Linked DNA regions of Homo sapiens: regions 2 and 3 are each linked to region 1. The links are contacts of gene promoters, found by promoter capture Hi-C in blood cells and fetal thymus (Javierre and others, 2016). All regions are on one chromosome and are shown on one strand. The core of a region is centred on a gene start or on the middle of the fragment in contact, and the rest is flanking DNA. Distances in the headings are between cores, read along the strand shown.

Region 1 (3,579 bases), core at 777-3,276:
ATGTTGTTTTCTCATGATATGTTCAGGATACTCTGGTAAATTCTGTCTAAATTTGAAGTCTGAGCATCTCAAACTAAATCAGTACAATACAATGTCACAGGCATTGTATTAGAGGCTGAAGAAACAAAGACACAAAACAGCCAACACTTTTGTATGGGATGCAGACACATGCATAACTAATTATAATATAAAGTGAAAAGAGCTTATTATAGTAGTGAAATCAAAGTGCTTTGGGAAAACAGGAGGGAGTGATTAATTCTGTAAGGGCTTTATGGAAAGTATTGAATGGTAGCAAAGGAAGGTGTCATTTGGTTTAAGCATATTAAGCTACAACTTAAAAGAGAAAGGAGGAAAATGGGAAATCCAAAGTTAACCACAATTCTAGTTAAACACAAAATTCTGGCCAATAAACTGACAAAATTATTTAAAAGTTTAAAAATAGAGATTTTCTAAAAATCAAAAACTACTTACTATAAACCCACCATATACGGGAGAAAAAAAGAGATATTTTATTTGCACAATGACATTGCAATTTGCATGGAAGTGCAATGACATATACAAATGAAAATAATATAAACACATAGAAACATACAATAAACAATTGCATGACTATGTACAGAATGAGTGGTATAACATTAAATATAAAGCATTCAGAAAAAAAATAAAAGTTGCTATAGTTTGAAATAGTCTACGAGGATTTAAAATTTTTTTCTCTATCCAAAGAGGGTATTTATGGGGTTGATTGGTTGTGAGTCCAAACCAAGGTTATAGAGATGGGGCAGCATGAGACACAAGAAAGAGCCTTGGTCAGATTTGAGAAACCTGAGCCTTTCCTTAGCCTGACTCTGCCATCAACCATTTATAACTTAAAATGACTCCTTTAGCTTCTGTGGCCCTCAGCCCTCTGCCACAGATAAAAGGTCAAATGAAGAATGTCTTCCACCCCTTTCAGTTATTCCATTACTGCATTTGTCTGTTCACCATCTCCAAATCAAGATATCTCTTGTTACTTGCTAAGGAAGCTTTGGGACCCTACACCTTGTGCTCTTAAATCAAGCTGACAAATGCAGGATCCCGTGGCTGCTTGCTTTCCATGTCTCTACCTCATGTCAGATTTATGTTTGGGACTAAGGGCAAGGTGTGTGACTATAAACCTGGATATCCCATCACAAAGGATTTACCATGCAGCTAAAAATGCCTAACGTACAGGGCTCACCAAATGCACAGGCCTTTTTAATGTCCCTGACGGTGGCCTCATGAACTCTCATTGTCATATATTTTTGCAGAATCTGTAGAAGTGAGATATTTCTGCATTACTTTTGCTTAAAGAGGATCCTCTATTCCAATTGCATAGGATCCAGGTTCATCAAAACTTAGATCTTCTCGTCATTATATACTTCTAAGTTCCTACTGTGTGAATAAGGGGTGCAAAAATCTAAAAAACTCCCGAAGACAAGGATATGAGGCACACCTCTTTGTAGGTCTGGCGTAAGGGAAAGAGGAAGAAAGGATTACATTCTACTCGTTTTTATCTCTCCCTGTTTGGTCTTAATCGGGTGCCAGCCCCTTAACGGAGGGTTGATCCCTGTTCCTCATCCCTATGCCTGCCTTGTCAAGGCCATTAACCGTGGATTGAGGTTTTACATAGTGGAACGCAGGTACTGTTTTGTGGGATTAGCATTTTTAGGACGGTGTTTGTGGTCACTCTCCCTGTTTCTTCCTCATGGGGTCCCTTAACAGGTTTTATGGTATAGAGAAGGAACTAAAGAAGTCCCCAAGTCACCCAGAAGGAAGATCAGACGTTAGAGGTTGCTTTACACATAGGGTGCCCTGTCCTGATAAACATCCGTCAGCGCTTGGCCAGGGCTACCTCTAAATCCACGCTGCTGGCAGCCTCCGCGCAGCAGGGATGAACTTCTGCACGCTTGGGAGTTCTGGCGTGCGCAGTGGAAGGAGGGGGCGAGGGCTGGGGGAGGAGATCGGAAGGGGAAAGGTAATCCCCGGCGTTTTCAGCATCCTCTTTTTAGAAAGACTGAGTCTCTCCCAGGACAGCTGCTGCGGTCACACCACAAACTTAAAAGCCGCCCTCCTGTTTGGAGCGTGCCTTTCCTCGCCACCCTCTCCTCCCCAAAGCTCCAGCTGGTGCCTTGCTCTCCGCCTGTCCTAGCGCGGCTCTCGGGGGAGGCAGCAGCGCCCCCTGCCTCCCGGCCTGGCCCCTGCGGCCGCAGCTTCCCGGCTCTGCCAGGGCTGCCGGCGGCTCCGCTTGCTCAGCCAGGGCTGCGGCTCAGAGGAACGCGCGCCGGTGCCCCGGGTTGCCGCGCCGCTGGACCTCAGCCTGCATCCCGTTCCCCTCTCCCTGAAAAGGCACCAGGAAAAGAGAGAGGGAGAGAAGAGTTCACAGCAGGTAAGTCTGGTTTGGGTCACCTGCTACTCCAGTGGGAGGGTGTGCTGGAGACCGCGGTGCTAAGCGGGGATAGCCGGGATTTGGGGGTGGCTGTGGGTCCGAAGTGGAGGACGAGCATGGTTTGGGAGATAAGGAACCGTCCTGAGACAGAGAAGGCTCCCGGGAGCGGACAGAGAGTGGGCGAAATCGGTGCGCAGTAATCGCGGCGCCAGCTTCAGCGCGGCCCCTGGGGCGCAGTCCCACCCCGCCTCAGCAGCTGCGGAGCCTTCTGACGAGCCTCCGCCTGGCAGCACTGCACAAAGTTTTCCTCCTGAGACGCGTCCAGGAACTTTGCTCTCTCCCTGGCTTCCTGGTTCCCCCACCACCCCTCCTGGTCTGGGCAGCAGAGAGCGTCTATGAATGTGTCCCCGGCTTCCGCAGGCTGCAGGTTCATTTGGAGACGCTTTAGTCGGGAACATCCGGGGAGTACTTGACCAAAGGGCATCTGCGCCCTCGCTCGCTCCTTTCCTTGTTGGTCTGGGAGAAGGGAAAGGGGCAAGGAAGAAGGAAGGGAAGCGTGGTGGTTTTTGTTGTAGCGTTTTGGAAGAGGAATGGGCGACGCCTTTTTCTTCGCCGGGGAATCGCGACGTTCCGTCTGATGGAAGTGTGCATCCTTTTAGATTTAGAGGGAAAGTTGGAGTCAAACAGCAGCCACAAAGCTGGCTGTCTGAAATGTGGTTAAGGCAAAACACTCGGGGGATCTCTTTGTAGTAGTGGGCTTGGCTCGCTTTGGAAAGGCCGGATTTGACTCGTGCTGGGCATTTAACCAGGAGTGCGGTCCCCAGGGTGTTTCCTCCCGGCTTCTGCCCAACGAGCCTGGAGTTAATGCGTTAATGGGCTACCCTGGTAGCGCACGGGCCGTTTTCGGCACTGTTTCTCCTTCTCTGATGACTCGAGTTCAACCTCCTGGGCTGAGTTGCTTTGCCTCCGTCACAGTGCAAGGAGGGAAGTTGACAGGAGGAGGAGACGCCGCGCTGTGGCAGGGAGCTTTGGGATCCAGGGGACTGGAAGAGAGCCGCGCGCCAGCAGCTGGGGCCGCTGGTGTCCGGGATTCCGAGTTATGGGGACAGGAGTTAAATAGCCGAACTTTCAGCGATTTCGCCTCGAGCGAAGCGGTAATAAAAGGCAAGCTTCTG
Region 2 (4,053 bases), core at 1,434-3,933, 100 kb before region 1:
GAAATTCCAGACATTTCATTATCTTCCACATTTTTTTGAGAGTTGAAACGTGAAAGTGAGATGGAAAGATGGACAGCTGAGGAAGAGTAACCGTAAAAGAAGAGGCAAGCTAAACACAATAAACCTAATCTTAAACACAAATGCACACAGCTGTGCAGTTTTCAGGCCCCAGAAAACCTGTCTCTGTGTAATGCAATATGAAAGAAAAACATCCTTGTTCTTGGAGGCAACTTCTCCATTTCTTGTGCTTTCTTATTTAAATAACCTTAGATCACAAGACACAGGATACACTTAAAAGTACTTCCTCCTTTTCAATGACCTTTCAGCTCTGAAAGGCCAGGTGAAAAAAGGAAAAATATCAAGATGTCTATTTCTAACTCCAACTATTACCTTTTGTGGAGAATGTCATCTTCTTTGAGAGCCTATAAAGGTGAAAAGAAATGTATGCTAAAAAGTACCAATATATATAACTGATATATTAAATATTTGCAGTTTCATGGAAGTCCTTTATCTATTTAAATAAAGTTAAAGAGTGCCTAATCCAGAAGATATTCAATGTTTATGAAACACATTAATGAGTGAATTAATTAAAATGTATTTTTTCTACCACTTGGAAAATTTTATGTCAGATGACGAATAAAGTACATGGAAAAACTGTGTATTTTCTAGGTAAATGAAGCATGAATGAACAAGATATTTAGGTTTTAAAGGTCTTTATATCAGAAATTTTAAGCTGTCATAAAACGAACTTACAGGTAGTGAATGGTCTAGACGTTCAGCCTGAAATAAGCTATTTAACTTAGTACATATCCTGCCTGCTGTTGTAAGCAAATTCCATTCATTGACCTTCTTTTCTACCACTTTTCCTATCAGAAACTGAATACCTATTTGGAAAATGAGAACACATGAACCACTGATTATGACTGAACCTGGAACTCATTCCCACCACCTCCATTTCTGAGCAACAGAACATAGAAGAGCCCCACTAAAAACCACTAATCAAGGTCCTCAAATCCTTTGCATGGGAGCTCCAGCCAGGCAAGCCTAGGAGACGTATTGAGGTGCTGGTAGCCAATGCTCAGGAAAAAGAATGACTTTTGGGTATTTGAAGAATAGAAAGCTTCAGTAGTCACATAACAGGTTGATGTGGGACACACAGATGGGGAAGAAACGGAGGTAGCTGATTCATTCTTGTATTTTAATGCCTATCTGCCCTTTATCTCATGTACCCGGGAGACAGCAGTGCTTACCAGAATGCTAATGACTCTTTTATTCCTTTTTATGAACCACAGGAATCCCCTTTCTCTATAGCTCATCACCCACGTGCAAAAAAAAAAAAAAAAAAAAAATATGTACTTCCCTGCTCTAACAAAGAATTCAAACACACTTTTGCTTACTCTCTTGCACTTTGATGTTTGAAGCAAACAAAAAAGAATTTGTTCTCTCAGAGTAAATAACAACTAAAAGTAAAGAAATAAACGTAAAACTTTGCCTGCCCTCCTGCCTTCCCAACTTTATTTTCCTGTAAGCCTTCTAGGAATAAAAGAAAATAGAAGGTTACACATTGGTGCTGTTTGTCTTGTACACAAAATGCTAAAGGACTTTCATCTGCACATATGTGGAAAACCAACTGCAGTTAACATGGACATTTCCCCCAAAGGGGCAGTAGTTAGAGATCTGGATATGAAAAGCTGAGAAAAGCTGGAGGATGGACAGTGAGGGAGAGGCTAGGGGCTGAGGATACACTTAATACAAAGACAGTGACGTGTACTTGAGGATGCTATTTCCATATTGGCTACAAAAGTACTCCTCTTCCACCAGGCTTAGAGCAAAGTAAAAAATCAAGAAGTAGGTCCGGTGACATTGATAAGAGGAGTGATAGGTAAAAGGAACTGCCCGGAAAAAGTGAGGAATCAACAGAAATAAATGTCTGCCCATCTGGAAGTAGAGTTTCAGTCCCTACTTAGCCTTTCTAAGGGCTGTTTATTACTGGATTTATGTAGCATGATAGTTCAAATAAGAATTGTTCCTAATGGATCTGTTTTTATTTTACATTGGTTATTCGTTCATAAAGAATGAGTAGGTTATTATAAAGAAATTCTGTATTTAAAATGTCTGTAAATCAGGTAAGTGAATATGCTAAAAAATACCAAGTTAAATTATTAATGCCTTATATATAGTACTGATGTAAAAACTGAGGTAAAGACTAAAAAATAGACTTTTTCAAAGAAGGGATGAGATTAGAATTCCTAATCTCTGCATTTTCAAAATATGGCTATTATATAGCCTTCTTTATTCCTAAGTTTAAAAATGAGCCTAAAATCTCTAAAAGTCATGTTCACATATAACAATAATGATACAATAAATTAAATAAACTTTTTAATATAAAAATCAGAAACTCATAAATTATGCTATTTTGTTTGGTTCCTACCAGTATTAAATACATTTTAAATTAGTTTGCAGAGTTACGGGCACGTCACTGAAAAATATGGTAATTTGTCTTTATTATGAATTATTTTACCAAGAACAGCTGATGTTTTATAGAAACTAGTTCAACATACATTTTGAGTTAAAAAAAATAACTTGATACAATTATAGAAATCATCCAGAATCAAATCACAATTACCTAAACTCCTTAACTAATTATTTTTTCTGATAATAGACTGGAAGTTTTCACTCCAATTTTCTATGAGGGCTAGGCTTTCAATTTTATTTTATAAGAAATGTACATGAATGAAAATGTCATACAGTGGCATTTGCAAAGGTACTAGAAAATATAATTTATAAGACTATTTGTTTCTCATTTAACTTATATTTCAAAAAAATTGGAATTTTTATGTATTCTACCATCACGTTTACTTGCAATTTTCCAGTAATCGTAGGAGATCCTCTTTAAAAGTCTACAAAATAATGAGGCTAAGGACACCTCTTCATTTGTATTTACAGGGAAATTAATTCTTTAGAATTTGCATTTGTCTTTTTAAATGACAGCAGATTTGTCTCAAGTGTGAAATCACAAATTTAAAAGTTAAAAGGCCTCTGGAGTGCAAGACTAGCAGTTGTCCCTTGATGAGACTACTGACAATGACAGCAGATGACAACCTTCAATACAATCATTGTCATGTGTTTGCATGTGAAATTTATGGATAGAAGTTTTAATTCTCCTCTTCTATGGTTGGTGTGGTTTGCCTTCTAGAAAAGAAGCAATTGTTATCAGTATGTAACTGAAGTCTCTAGGATATGATTACATACTTAAGACATGAAGAATTGGAAATGCTTTCAGCAGTCCCCAGGGACGAGCTTAGGGTTGTGACTGATCAACAGGGTAACTATCCTGGTTATAATCCTCACATTACATTCCAGAGGAAAGGCATCACTGCACCTCTAGTTTTCTTAGTTATATTATTTATGACAACAGTGAAGACTTATACTAGTATTAACTGGACAACTGTATACAGATGTGTCATCTAAAACGGTTAGCCCGAGGCGGTAAAAATGTGTCTCAGTCTCACCATTCATCCAGCAACAGCTGACAATTTGGCAGCAATCTGTGTTATGTTAAGATTTCCTAGTATCCCTATTTGTACTGTTGCTTGAGGAATCATATGAGAGTAAAAAACATGTTTTGCAGAATACATTATGAAAACAATCATAAGGTATACGTCTATCATTAAAAAATCTTGATGATGTTATGCATGCATATATGAGGAATAAGAAGGAACGAATCAATGTCTGGGTGACAAGTTTCATACATGGCTGAAATTTTTTTCATAAGTTTGAAATGCATGCTTTTTCGCTGTGGAAGTGGAATCACACCTTTGCCTTGCTTTGCACATTTTTAAACTACTGACACATGTTTCAGAGATGTATTGCTTACTCTTCCCTTAATAAGAAAAAAAATCCTGGTAAATAGTCTAGCGAGCATAGAGAATAAAATAACTGGAGGCCACATACAGCAATTTTTAGTTTTATAGTTTATCTTTGGATCGTTTCAGTCTTCTGTATTTACTGGATCTGCCTGTGGAAAAGTCTGTTAATCTGATGGCCAACGTG
Region 3 (3,933 bases), core at 439-2,938, 120 kb before region 1:
ATTTAAATGTTAAAATTAAAATTTTATTTAATTTTTCCCAAGCAAGAGGCATTTTTGTTCAAATAATATTCAAGTATTTACTTTGAGGCAGAACATGTGCCAAGACCTCAGGATATAATCGAAAACAATAAACAAAACATCTCATCTCATTCCTGCTCTCTTGGAACTTAGATTCACATACAGGAGGAAAGAAAAAATAAATAAATTGGTGAATAAACAATTTAATGTCAACTAATGATAAGTACAATGATCAACATGAATCCTGAGGGATATGATTAGAGAGCAAGCTGGATACTGGAATAAACAAATTAGAGACAGAAACAAACAAACAAAAAACCCTTCAAATTAACACAAAGGATAAATGCCTGAGAGGATGGAGACCCCCTTTCCCAAGATGTGTTTTTTATGCATTGCATGCATGTATCAAAACATCTCATGCACCATATATATATAGAGAGAGAGAGAGAGAGTGTACACAAAAATTAAACATGAAAAATTGAAAAGTTGGCTGGGCACGGTGGCTCATGCCTGTAATCCCAGCACTTTGAGAGGCTTAGGTCAAAAGTTCAAGACCAGCCTGGCCAACATGGCAAAACCCTGTCTCAACTAAAAATACAAAAAATTAGCCAGCGTGGTGGCGAGTGCCTGTAGTCTCAGCTACTCGGGAGGCTGAGGCAGGAGAATGGCGTGAACCCGGGAGGTGGAGCTTGCAGTGAGCTGAGATTGCACCACTGCACTCCAGCCTGGGCGACAGAGGGGGACTCCATCTCAATAAATAAATAAATAAATAAATAAATAAATAAATAAATAAATAAGCCAGTTGTGGTGGCAGGTGCCTGTAATCCCAGCTACTTGGGAGGCTGAGGCAGGAGAATCACGTGAACCCAGGGGGCCGAGGTTGCAGTGAGCCAAGATCGCAGCACTGCACTCCAGCCTGTGCAACAGAGCAAGACTCCACTCATAAAATAAAAAATAAAAATAAATAAATAAATAAAAAATTAAAAAATTAAAATCATGAGTACAGCCTGATTTTGGATGTTGGTGATGTTTTGAGAGAGGGATCACATGATTCAATTGGATGTTCAGTAGAGGAAGCAGCAGGCCAAGGTAACCCACTTCGTGGAGTATAAAGAATATAAAAAAGCCCAAAGAGCAGGTGAGATAAATTGAGGGAGCACACACACACACACACACACACACACACACACACACACACACACACAGGTAGAAGACTAAAACTTTGAAAAGAAGCAGCAAAACCAAAGCATCATGTCTAGGAATAATCATGATTGTGAAGTTGATATTGCGTTACGTGAGGGGAGAGTCAAAAGGTGTCTTCTGTTAGTGCAGACAGAAAGAGGGAACTGCAGCCATTGCAAACAGAGGGCCATGGAGCAAAAATGGAGACAAAACAATGACTGGCATAAACCTAATCCCTTTAGACCCACAATGTGCTTTTGAATGAGTGAGATATTTTGCTTAAAATACAATTCACAATTTGTATATTTTACCCTTAGTAATTGTTTATTACAAGTGAGTATAGTTTTAGCATGCTAATCAGAAAAATTCTGCTTTGTTTAAAGTCTAAATTTAAAATCCCCAAACTGATATTATCTGTAACCAAACTGCTTTAATTCAAGTGGAACATAAAGTCCACATGGAATGTACATTTGTCCCAAGCTGAGACCAACACCACTGATTTGGCCTCTCTGCTTTTGTGCATGTGGAATAGAGGAAGAAGCTATTACACAGCTGCAGTAACAGAGAGCCGATCTCCACCACCCCCACCCATACTAGGAAGGCCCAGAAAATAAACTGGAAAATTGCCACAGAAAGTAAGATGCATGTAGAGACAAAAAACACAGGTTAAACTTGATAGTTGATTCCCCATTAATGAGTAAGGATAAATAATCTCTTAACCTTACCTCGTCTCTCCTCATTTGTAGGGGAGGTTGTATTCTAAACTAGAGGTAAGCATTTAAATGAAAGCTAATTTCAGAGATAATCCCAGGAAGCACTGGTTTGGAATAGGAGGTGAGAAAGGAAAGGGAATGAGTCAATAAAGGCTGTATTATGGAGCAGATGACTGCTGTGGGCAGTTGAGGAACTCTAGGAAACCCTGTAGAACATGTGCAGAGCTGCTGTATTGCTCACAGATAGGAAACTGGACTAGTTATCTACTAATTCCTATTAGTTACTGCTTGAGAGCTATTTCCAGGGACATTACCATCCTGCCTCTTCTGCCCTGTCCTATATATACCGATTACGTGGTTCTGGTAGCCAAAGAAAACCCTCAGGGATAGAGCTACAGATCCTACAGTGAAACTTTCAAGAACTGTGATGTCCAAGTAGTTTTAGGTGGGACATCAACAGTGTCTGCCACAACTAATCATTAAGACCAAATAAACTACTCTATAGCAAAATACTGTGTAAACTACCAATTTCAGTATAAATTAATATTAAGTGGAGAACAAATTGAAATAAATTTTTAACATTCAGTGCAAATATAACTCTAATGCCAGCATAGTTTGAATTATAGTAAAAAGAAATATACATTTAGAATTAGAAAACCTAGAATGTTTAAATCCTGGCATTTCTTTGAGCACATCACTTCTCTAAGTTTAGAGAAGTGTAATGAGGTTTTATTAACTCTTTTATGGTAAAAAATGAGCATATTAAGTTTAGAGAAGTGTAATGAGGTTATATTAACTCTTTTATGGTAAAAAAAAATGAGCATACTAAGTAAGGGGAGGATATTTCTAAGATGATATTTAACACAAAGTAAATTTTTAGTAATTGTTAATTATCTTCCCCACTTCCAACTTTATTTTAAGATTATTCTTATCTGAAGCTGCTCAAGATTTTTCATTTATTATTCTAGCTTATTAAAAACAAGTTGAATAGTTTATTAAGCTGGGTTGTATCTTGAAGCCACTGAAAATACAAATAACATATTTAGGAACGCTTACTGTGAGCCAGGCACTGTCAAAGGCACTGTGCTTAAGATGGTAAACAAGGCCGAGCGCGGTGGCTCACGCCTGTAATCCCAGCACTTTGGGAGGCCGAGGCCAGTGGATCACGAGGTCAGGAGATCTAGACCATCCTGGCTAATACAGTGAAACCCCGTCTCTACTAAAAATACAAAAAAATTAGCCTGGCGTGGTGGCAGGCGCCTGTAGTCCCAGCTACTCGGGAGGCTGAGGCAGGAGAATGGCGTGAACCCGGGAGGCGGAGCTTGCAGGGAGCCGAGATCGTGCCACTACACTCCAGCCTGGGCGACAGAGCGAGACTCTATCTCAAAAAAAAAAAAAAAAAACAAAAACACAACATGGTAAACAAAAGAAACCCCAAATCCCTGTTCTCAAAATATTGTGAAGAAAATGAATGATTAAAAATTATATACAAAAGAGGGCTTCTGATATATAACTTTCTACTTAATGATTATATTTTGATAACATTATTATTTGAGTATCATTATTTAGATATCTTTAATATGAATTTCAAAATTGCTGTGGTGTTTGTCCATTACAGTGGTCTGATGTATTTCAATAATGTAGAACATAGTCTAGATTTAAAAAGAAAAGAAAAAAATTATGAACACAAAGTCAATTTAATTATCCAGGGCAAATTATCGCATTTGCAATGGACTATACCCATATAGTTTTAGATGATTGAGATTCTGAGCAATCATATATTATGGTTTTTATTAATAAGAATTAAAAATTATAAGGAGATGAGTATATGCATTTTGGAGGTCCTTCCCAATTCTAAAATTCTATGAAGTATGACTTGTAATTTAAATGGTAAGTTTAATAATAATACAAATATAAATGTAAACAATTAAGTTGCCTGGAATATGCTTAAAATAAGAGAATTCATAACACTTAACAAAGTGCTGCCTGAATCAGGCTGGTCCAAGTTGTTACTTTAGGA

What was found. The method cuts DNA at HindIII sites, captures the fragments that hold promoters and counts their contacts. A CHiCAGO score of 5 or more calls a contact.
Region 2: a fragment that was not itself captured here is called in contact with the fragment with the promoter of SEMA3D in region 1 in 1 of 17 cell types (total B cells); the score reaches 6.1 in total B cells.
Region 3: a fragment that was not itself captured here is called in contact with the fragment with the promoter of SEMA3D in region 1 in 2 of 17 cell types (total B cells and naive B cells); the score reaches 6.3 in total B cells.

Annotation. Positions count from the first base shown.
Region 1 is chr7:85,185,503-85,189,081 of GRCh38, reverse strand. It overlaps SEMA3D (semaphorin 3D), which reads left to right and starts at 2,026. Exons shown (of 19, transcript NM_001384900.1): 1 at 2,026-2,404. RefSeq lists a silencer at 2,155-2,214. The HindIII fragment of the contact is 2,551 bases long and covers 1,025-3,575 here.
Region 2 is chr7:85,286,663-85,290,715 of GRCh38, reverse strand. No RefSeq gene overlaps it. Among named protein-coding and RNA genes, the nearest start is that of SEMA3D, 100 kb to the right of the region's middle. The HindIII fragment of the contact is 3,122 bases long and covers 1,123-4,053 here.
Region 3 is chr7:85,306,572-85,310,504 of GRCh38, reverse strand. No RefSeq gene overlaps it. Among named protein-coding and RNA genes, the nearest start is that of LINC00972, 110 kb to the left of the region's middle. The HindIII fragment of the contact is 6,360 bases long and covers 1-3,933 here.